2 separate regions of the Homo sapiens genome follow, and region 2 is linked to region 1. Evidence: promoter capture Hi-C in 16 types of primary human blood cells and fetal thymus (Javierre and others, 2016). All regions are on one chromosome and are shown on one strand. The core of a region is centred on a gene start or on the middle of the fragment in contact, and the rest is flanking DNA. Distances in the headings are between cores, read along the strand shown.

Region 1 (5,218 bases), core at 1,608-4,107:
AATATGCCACTTTCCCCTGAACTCCAAGCGTGTCTAATAATGCGAGAAGCAGATTGTCTTCCCTCGTTTCCTTAATTTGTTTCATCTAAAAGCAATTCACTCAACATCTTGTCGCCCTCTGGCAGCTTAGTTTACTTATCCGCACTTAATTTCTCATTTGGACCAAAACAAACTCCTCCAAACTGCTACTGACTGCTAACCGCGAGAGGGGAGACGCGCAATATGTATTTAGTTGGGAACACACAGCCACACACATACATAGGCACAAACACACACAGCCTCACTCATACCCCAGACAGTAACTTGTTTTTATAATAGCACTGCATTAAAACCAGCTGAACTTTCCCTGCCAGGTGCGGCAGGGTGGGGGTGGGGGAGGATGAAAAACGAAGTCCCCCGGGGCATTTACAGTTTCCAATGGATCACCTTAGTATGCGTGTTGCAATTATACCAGGGATGCACCCGAGAGCTTTTCTTTGTGCGGCCCTTTCATCTGGATCACTTTGTGTTTTGAACAAGTGAGGCTCGCCTTTGTGCCCCCAGAATTTCAAGTACAGAGTCACACACGGAACAACAATGGCACGCTAATCCTCGCGCTCTAAATGGGCTCACTTGTGGGTCTGACAATTCGCCCAGGGAAACGAGAAGAGACGAAGCGAGGGCGCGAGCTAGTGTCGCCTGAGACGAGGAAGAGGACAGCTGCAGAACTAATTTGGATTACATTCCTTGCAGAAATTCTGAAAAGGGCTTTTCGGCATAGCTCAACTCGGAGCCGCACAGTTAATACCAAATTGCTGCGGACTCGGAGCGGGGTCCCCCAGTGGCAGAGGCTGAACCAGACAGCCCCCAGTAGGTCGCCTCGTAGAAATTCCTCTCGGCTAAGCCTGCATGTCGGTCGCCAATGCCTTTGAATGGGTCAATGTGCATAATCAACCCATTGAGGGAAAATATGAAGGGACTCGAAGTGGGGAGGGAGATAAAAAGAGATGTATCTAAGAGGCCGCTTGGAATGTCAAGTCCGTGTTGGTGTGATTCCGGAGGTGGCTGGAGCGCGGGACCTGGTATGCGTGAAGAATTTCGGAGTAATTGGGAGGGTGCAAACGGCCAGCACAAACGCCTCACATGTGCCATTCGAAGGTCATTTTGAAAGACTCGATAATTGTAACTTGTTATTTACTAGGCAAAGGAGGCGGCGGCGGCGGCGGCGGCGGAGCGGGAAAACTACAGCTAGCCGTTTTCTTGGTGAGGTCAGAAGGACACCCTCCGGGGGCCTAAAGCGCTCCCTATCGCCACTCCCGGGGGCTTTATCACCTCAAGCTACTTCCCACGCTCCAGTCACCATCCCTGGATGGTTTCGGAAATCTCTCTGGCTCTCCAAAAGGCACCCCTTGGCCACGTCAAGACACCGGTCCTCCTCAGACCTCTCCCGTCCCACTTTCATCCCCAGGAAACTCTAGTGTCAGAAACTTTGAGCTCCATTGCACTGCAGGTGCTGTCATTAGTCCTGCAAGCCGTGGCGGGCCAGCCCCGCCGCGCTGCCTCTCGGGGTCAATTAGCCCTTTGCCTGCCCAGGTACCTGGGGCTCGAGCTCTCCAGCAAGCAGTGGCCGCGCACCCATCGCCGCTGCCGCTTTCGCCTCGGGTGGATCCAGTGACCCGCAGGCTCGGCAGCCTGGCCGGGCAGTAAACAGACAAGTTTGAAGGACTCCGGCCAATAGCAAGTTGAACTACAGGAAGAACTCTTCCCGGAGCCAAACACGGCAACCGACGGGAAGGCCGGGCTTCTGGCTCAAGTGTGCCAAGCCTTTTTTTTTTTTTTTAAGAGGTCAGGCAGGCGAGTAAGCGCCCCTCAAGTCAATGGGGAGAGGGCTCCGGGAAGCCGGCGGAAGAGGCCCAGAACTCCGGGCCCCGGACCGAGGCGCGCCCGCCTGCTGCACTCCGGCTGCCCGGGCTGGGCGCGAGTTGCGTCTGACGCCACAAGGCTCGGGCGACTGGGGGCGCAGCGGTCGCCAGCAGCACACACAGGTGCAAAGCCCGATTTTCTGAGCGCCGCTCTCCACCGCCCTTCGGGCTCGGCTCGGGAGAGGCCCAGCCAGCACCGCCCCAGGACCGCGGCCCCGGCGGTGCGGGTTCTGCCCTCGGGGACCCGACAGGGACAGAAGAGTCTCCTCTGACTGGGGATTTGGGTCTCCCATGTCCCGAACAACAGGCGCCACCAGAAGGGATCCCGCTTAGGCTCCCAAACAAAACGCTCGGGAAAGAAAAGCAGGGGGTTAAGGAGAGAAAAGAGGGACTCAGAGTGATTTTTCACGATAAATAAAGCAAACGCACACATACAGGGTAAGTTTCAAATGGAAAGAGGGGTGACCGAAAGCCCAGGGAAGAGGCCCCGGTCAAGCGGTCCCTCCACGCCTCCCGGGATGGGTGAAGAGGGCAGGGGAGCCACTCGAGGCAGCCCCGCCGGCGGCTGCAGGTTCGGCGACCGGAGTGCCAGAAGGAACCCACCTGACTGAGAATCGCTGGGCTGGACGGTCCCCGCCGCCACGAGAAGGCTCACCCAGACCCAAAGTCCTGTCGCCGGCTTCATTTTTTGGAAGTCTCAGATCCCGTGCTGACAATTACATGTCCAAATGGCATATCCCCCTTTCGGGCACGCGGAGGAGATCCCCCAGCCGGGCGCGCGTGGGGGTGCGAGGGGGGCGGGCGCGGCGCGCGCGGTGTGGCGACTCCCAGGGCGGGCGACCGAGTCCGCGCCCGCGGGTCCAGGGCCGGGGCCCGAGGAGGGGGCGAGTGTGAGCGCGTGTGTGCGCGTGTGGGAGTGTGCTCGGTGTGTGCGCTTGGCGCTCTGGGCCGGACTGTGCAGCTATTTCCCCGCGTGAGCCTTCGCTTGCTCGCTCCCTCCTCACTTTCTCTCTCTCTCACTGGTTGGTCAACAATAAAAAAGGAAGGGGGGCGAAAGGTTTCCAAAAAAAGTTGATTGCAAAGAGGCGGTAGGTTTCCGGCCTCTCCCCGCAGCCGGGCTATGTTCTGCTCCTTCTTCAGTTTCCTTGCACCTCCAGTCCAAATCGGGAGGGGAGCGGGGCGGGGGGAGCTTCTCGCTTCTCCCCGGATCCCGTCCTTCTTTTTCCTCTCAGCTTTCCTCACACTTGTCCGGCGGCTGCGGTAATTAAAGCTCCGAGCGTCATTTCCAGCGCTCCGCGGTCTCCAGCTGCAGCCCACAGAGAAATTAATAAGACTCCAGAAAAAAAAAAAAAAAAGGTGCGGGGGGCGGTGGGAATAAAACAACCCTCCACGCAACCAGGCCGGCTCTGCTCAGCCGCGCAAACCCCGCCCATGCTCTGACCCAACTAGCCACGCCCTTCCCCCCCCCTTCCAAAGGGAAATCTTATTGGCTCAGCCACTCCCCAAAATCCTGGGCCTCCGGAGTTGGGAAAACACCTGTCAGGGAAAGGGAGCCTCTTGGTGGGGGCAGGGGAAGCTGGATTTAAAGGGCTCACCGAAGCCATGCACTGAAGCACTCGTCTTCCCTCCCTGGCAGAGGCCTGGGACAGCTGGCCTGCTGAGTGGACGGACCATTGGAGGGCCGCTTACGGAAATTTTTTTTTTTTTTAAACAAGAAAGTCAGCATTTTCTCCGTTGCCCCACGGTGCTCATCTACAGACAAGACTTTCCCTAGAAATAAAAGTCAATGTTGCTTTCAGCAAAAAGCCTCCGCCCGCAGTACTCTGCCACTCATGGTCCACAATTAGAAAGTACTTTAAAAGTGTGTACAGCAAGTAACTGGTAGCCCCTGAGGATTAGGTAGTGGTAGGGGTATAATCACCGCCCCGCCTCCCGCCCCCAGTTATGCCATCTCTCCGATTACTCCCACATTTCTAAACTGACCAACATTGAGCCAAACTAAACTTTCACATTTATAAAGGCATATCCTTTGATTTTTAGATTTTATGTTTTTTTTTCACCTTTGGAGTTCATTCTTATTAAGCAGATTCTAGTCCAAAGCCACTGATTTGATCTTAAAGGGCTAGAAATTGTCCCCAGCCTGAAAGAATTTAAGGAGGCCACATCAGAACATAATTAACCTTAAATGATTCTGTTTATTCTACAGTAGACCCAGCTTTAGGCCCCTTCCTTGTCCTCACTCTGCACATTCATGGTCCCTAATCTGGAGGTCATTGCTAGTTACGAAAGTCTCTGACCTTTTCTGAATCTAAAATATTCTGGGACTGGGTCATTTCAATGTACATATCCCTTGCCTTTTACAGCTCTGAAACCGCACCCTGGCAAGGGCCAGAATCTGCTGGGGGTAGTTATTGGTTTGCTATTTGTACAGGCATTCTATGTATGAATCACTTTCCTTTTTTGGTTTTTCTAGAAGCAGCAAATATATAAATAAAAAGTATCAGGGGAGCTTAAAAATCAAACCACCCTGCCTTTCATTTGAGACCTTGATCTCCATTTCCCACTCTCTTATCTATAGCCCCATCCCTTAAGAATTTCCATGGAGCTGAGAACAGATAGGAGGTACAGATGCCTGAAGCCTGAAGCTTTCCCTTTCTTAGACCCACAGCAAATAACAGGCTCCATGAAGACGCCCAACAAGCTGAGCGTGCGGTTTTACCAGAAGCAGCCTAGGGCAGAGAGGAACTAAGCCTAGAGCAGATGACGGAGACTTGACCAGAATGGTACTGATTGCAGCAAAACTGTGCACACTGCTCTTTGGGATTATCTTTGTTTTCTTTTCTTTTCTTTTTTTTAATTACTCTTTCTCTCTGTTTTCTCTTCTTTCATTCAATCTCTTCTCATTCCCCTTGTCTTAAATCCTTTTGAAATTCTCAGGCACCTCTCTTCCATAAAAGCTACTTCTTTTCAAAACTTACTTTCTGTCCCTAGAATGACAATTTAAATGAGAAAAACATCTTCCTTTTGTAAAAGTTTAAGTCTCTGTAGTAAAAAAAAAAAAAAAGTCTGGTTTCTGATGGCAATTATGTTGCACGAAGTGAAGGAATGGGCCAGGTGTGGTGGCTCATGCTTGTAATTCTAGCATTTTGGGAGGCTGAAGTGGGAGGATCCCTTGAGGCCAGAAGTTCCAGACCAACCTGGGCAACATAGTGAGACCTCAACTCTACCTTTTTTTTTTTTTTTTTTTAATGAGCTGGGTATGGTGGTGCACACCTGTAGTCTTAGCTATTGGGAGGCTGAGATGGGATAGAATTGCT
Region 2 (5,218 bases), core at 1,756-4,255, 390 kb before region 1:
ACATTTGGAGTATTTCTAACTAAAATGTGAGTACATACATAAATGTTTCCATTGCCTTTACATATTAAGTTTAAAAATTGTAGTTAAAACAAAAAAAATCCATTTGAAAATCAAATACTAGAGAAAGTTTTTAAAGACAGTTTTCGCAAGCCACAGCACTCTGACTCATAAGGCTTGGATAGTATTTTTACTTCCCAGACATAGCTAGACTAGTGGTTGCATAAATACTATTCATTCACACTATCAGAGCCTCCTTTTACCTCATGATTATACCATCATATTCCCCAATGACTAGTATTTTGGTACCAATTGTTATAAATTTCAGGGTTGTCTAGTATAAAATTAGCCCTCTTCCAGTATCAAAATATTTCACATGCCATCTTAGAATAATTAACTTACCCCAGAAAAGCTAAAGAGAAAGGGAGAAGGCAGTTGTTTTAAATGACCTTAAGACTTTTCTACATATTGCTATTCAGACTTCCAGTGATAAAACAAGAAATTGCTATAGGCCTTTAGACTTAAGAGTCACCCAGTCCACTCACTCTTCATCTTGCTAAGCAATGCAGGTCACACCTGAGATTCAACAGCTAAGTGTACAGCCTTGGCTGTGCCCACTCAACACGGAGTGAAGCAGCCAGCATGCAGTAAAAAAAAAAAAAAAAAAAAAAAAGCCACTGGAGTTCATTCTGTTGTACTTTCTCATCCTTATCGTCTTATTTTTTTCTCTTTGTCAATCTGTTTGAGAACTCTTTGGTGTCTATTATCTCTCACTTTCCTACCCATCCTTCAAAGCGGCTCCCCTTCTCATCACCACTGTGGAAAACTCTTTCATTTCATCCTACCCTTGCTCGGACCCAGTGAACTTACACCCAATCTATACTTCCTGTCCCCCTAAGGGCCCAAAGGGGATAGTCTACTTATGCTTCCTGGTGTGTCTCCACTAAAGAGCCTGGTTACTCCTCCCTTTCTCATAAAAGAGGTCTGACAAAAGCCTGCAATTTCATTTAGTTCCATATTATCCTGGCATCTTGACATTATTGTTTGACTTTGCTGTGGCCAGTATCTCCAGCTTTCAGCCCAATAATTTAGCTGAGGTAATGAATTAAATATTTAGTGTTTCAGTTATATGTTTAGATTGGGCTCCTCAATAATGTTAATGCCCACTATTTCTCTTATCCTGAATGGTGACAGACTGCAAACTGCCTTGCTGGGACTTCTATTTTCTGTTTTATTCTGTTCTCTGCCTTTTGCCGATGTCACCCTGTTTTCAGCCTCAACATTAAATAAATAGCCAAATACACAAGTGCCAAGAATTGTTGACAATATAACTCTAGAAGCATATGGTGCTAAGCTAGTAGAAAAACAATTCTTAGCTCAGTAAGTATTCTTCATTTGAAATTGTGCACTATTTCTTCTCCTTCTACTTGAAAAGTCAGCAAACTTGAGGACCAAGTGTCGCCTGGGGATCTAACTTGCATAAAACATTGTGTTGGCTCTGAAGCACTGAGATTCCATAGCAAGGCCAGCAATACATAAACTCCTCTGGTACTCCTACATTATTTATCCCTGAACAGCTAGGGGGCTTTTTGCAAAGACGTCCCTAACTACGGCAAGCATTCACTCTATTTAATGTTTATTTAATTAACAGTGCACAAACACCAATTCTGTGAGTGCAGTGGAGTCTGTGCACATCTTTAGATTTATTTTCTCAATTGATTTGGAAAGGCAGTAGCAGAATGGTGCCAGACATTTCTTCCCACCCAGTTATCCCTTAACACCCAAGAATCTCTCTATCTAAAAAGGCATTGGTTAAAATAGGGTAAAACTGATATGGGGACAAGACAGAAGAAAGGAATATCTGGGGGAAAAAGTTGGCAGAGAGAAGCTCTGTTGTCATTGTTAGACTTTTTTTTTTTTTTTTTTTTTTGAGACAGGGTCTCACTCTGTTGCCCAGGCTGTCTTGCAGTGGCAGGATCTTGGTTCACTGCAGCCTCCATCTCCGGGGTTCAAGTGATCCTCCCACCTCAGCCTCCTGAGTAGTGGGGTCTACAGGGGCATGCCACCATGCCCAGCTAATTTTTTTTTTTTTTTTTTTTTTTTTTTTTGTAGAGATGGGGTTTTGCCATTTTTCCCAGGCTGGTCTCGAACTCCTGTGCTCAAGCCATCCACCTGCCTAGCCTCCCTAAGTGTTTGGACTACAGGCGTGAGTCATGGTGCCCTGTCTTTACACTTTCAAAAGAAGAATTACAATATTATTGTGAAATAATTGAATTTCTTCATTATATAAAATGTGAAGATTTAATCCAGCATCATTTAAGAGTTAGATAGGATGATCTGTAAGGTCACTGTTATTCTAAAATTCTATGTTCAGAATTACCTAGACTAGATTGCCTCTAAGTAGCACTCAGAATGAGACATCAACTGTGGATTTTTATATCCTAAAGCACACAGGATAAAACTCAGAGATATAAAATGAAGCACTCACAAACTACTATCTACCACAGTACATAACTCTAAAAATCTCTGTAAACATATGAGAAAGGAAAGAAGCATCTTCTCAGCAGAATTGAATAAATTGAGGATGTATGTATTGAAAATCTACTTTAGGGTATAAGACTTCTCAGAAATAAAATCAAATCCAATAAAATCAAATTTTGTTAGTTTGAGAAACATTGTAAAGTTTTGTTTTGCTGTCATTATCTGAAGCCTACCATTAACCCTCCGTGAAGAAACTGGCTTTCTAAACTGAGGTAACATAAAGTTTCTTCATATTTGCAATTGTGGGGAGTTGGAATCCTTATTTTTCTCAAGCCTGTGGTCCCTTTTCTGTGATTTATCCTTCTTTCTCCATCTTTCCATTTCTAAGATTGGCCTAATAATCACTGTAATATCAGATGACTAAGTTGTGGATGCACACTTTTTATTGAATTACCTTTTGTGCAGACTTTGTGTTAAATTTTGCATTTATTAATGAACAATATGTTATTAGTAAACTTATTTAAAGGTTCTATTTTATTATTCCATTCATCACCAGGGGGCAGCACAATTCCCAAAGAGTATTTTCTTTTTTTTTTTTATTCAGAGTGAAAAAGTACAATGGCATAATTGGTACCGATTTCTATTGCAGCTAGAGGCATACACAGGATTATTCTACTTTTTTATGCAATGAATATAGACTAAAAACTAGCTGGATTCAGAAAATTGTATCTACAAAGAGGAATATACTTATTAGCAGATACCTCGCATAATTCAAAAAAGAAGGAAAAAGTATCATTAAGTTTGTGTGTTTGTGTATTATCTCTGAGGTACAAGAAAAATAAAATTATTGTTTTCTGAATTCCTTTATGGCACAGAAAAACATATAGGATGGCATTATTTCCCTTTACTATCTTGGGAAAGAAACATAAGTAATACAAAGCCCTAGGTACTTTCAAAGAGCTGAGGATGAAAGAGATGGGAGAAATGTGGAGAGATGGAGATAAAGGGATATTTCAAAGATGAGAAAGACATGGTTGGTTTCCTGAAAGACTTAATACATCAAAGATACCACAGTTTAAGAATAGTAAATAAACAATTATATTTTATTTTAAAATAAAGGACTATAAATCACGCTGCTATAAAGACACATGCACACGTATGTTTATTGCGGCATTATTCACAATAGCAAAGACTTGGAACCAACCCAAATGTCCAACAATGATAGACTGGATTAAGAAAATGTGGCACATATACACCATGGAATACTATGCAGCCATAAAAAATGATGAGTTCATGTCCTTTGTAGGGACATGGATGAAATTGGAAACCATCATTCTCAGTAAACTATCGCAAGAACAAAAAACCAAACACCGCATATTCTCACTCATAGGTGGGAATTGAACAATGAGATCACATGGACACAGGAAGGGGAACATCACACTCTGGGGACTGTTGTGGGGTGGGGGGAGGGGGGAGGGATAGCATTGGGAGATATACCTAATGCTAGATGACGAGTTAGTGGGTGCAGCACACCAGCATGGCACATGTATACATATGTAACTAACCTGCACAATGTGCACATGTACCCTAAAACTTAAAATATAATAATTAAAAAAAAATTTTAAAAAATTTGATTTTCTAAATTCACATACATGAGATTTGGAAAAGTAATTTATGATGAATTTATCTTTCATGACATTCCTGTTTATAAGCCTCCAATTGCTGCCTGGAGTATCACCTTTAAAAGTTCACATACAGTGACACAGAACTTTCAAACTATAGTGCTCGTCACATGTACTCTTTTTTAAAAAATGTGTTGGTTTTTATAGATCCATAAAATAAAATGGGTTATAAAGAGTTAAAAGTTGTAGTAAATTGAACATGAAAATAAACAACTTATGAAATCGGATAATATTTGAAGGCAACAAGTCTACAATATTACCAAATAAAAAAGTATTTTGCTAACTTACAGGAAGGTAGAAATAGAAACAGCGGCACAGTAGCATATGCAGTTAAAATGTTTCAAATATGGTCTTATTTTTAATGTGAAAAATGCTCTTATTTAGAAAAATAAAACATGTACATATGCATACATACAACCCTTCCATTAGCCCTGTTTCTCCATTAAATAATGTCTTTCTTTTTTCATCCTCAAACTGAATTCATTCATTCTTTCTTTTTCATTCACTAAGCATTGCTTTCTGAACTGATTATGCACCTGCCCTTAAGATTTCTCTATTTTGTGGAGTAGACCGACATGGCAACAAATGATTCTAACAAAATTGAAATTTGTGTTTTAAGACAATACAAAGTGTCATGGGAATAAGAACATGCAAGTCATAGACTATAAACCCCTTGAGGACAGGGACCATGTTTATCTCATCAGGAACACTTAACTCCAGTATCTAAAGGAATCCTAGGCAAGCAGCAGGCACTCAACAGATATTTGTTCATTTATAAAATACCCATTTTTCCAGAATCAGAGTGGAAGACGAAACTTGCAAAACCGGGTATTCATTTCCTAAGGTTATTGTAATAAAGTGCCATAAACTGGTGGCTTAGAAAAGCAGAAATTTACCCTCTCACAGTTCTGGGGGCAAGAAATCCTCCAAAATTAAAGTGCTGGAGACAATGCTGCCTCTGAAGCCTCTAAGGGAGGATCTTTCTTTGCCTCTCCCAGTTTCTAGTAGCCCCAGGCATTCCTTGGCTTTTGGCAAGATAACTCCACTTTCTACCTCCA

What was found. The method cuts DNA at HindIII sites, captures the fragments that hold promoters and counts their contacts. A CHiCAGO score of 5 or more calls a contact.
Region 2: a fragment that was not itself captured here is called in contact with the fragment with the promoter of ERBB4 in region 1 in 3 of 17 cell types (megakaryocytes, M2 macrophages and erythroblasts); the score reaches 6.2 in megakaryocytes.

Annotation. Positions count from the first base shown.
Region 1 is chr2:212,535,945-212,541,162 of GRCh38, forward strand. It overlaps ERBB4 (erb-b2 receptor tyrosine kinase 4), which reads right to left and starts at 2,858. Exons shown (of 28, transcript NM_005235.3): 1 at 2,505-2,858. The coding sequence starts at 2,586. RefSeq lists an enhancer at 1,389-1,889. The HindIII fragment of the contact is 6,206 bases long and covers 1-4,544 here.
Region 2 is chr2:212,145,082-212,150,299 of GRCh38, forward strand. All of the region lies in intron 1 of ERBB4 (erb-b2 receptor tyrosine kinase 4), which reads right to left. Among named protein-coding and RNA genes, the nearest start is that of MIR548F2, 280 kb to the right of the region's middle. The HindIII fragment of the contact is 6,037 bases long and covers 1-5,218 here.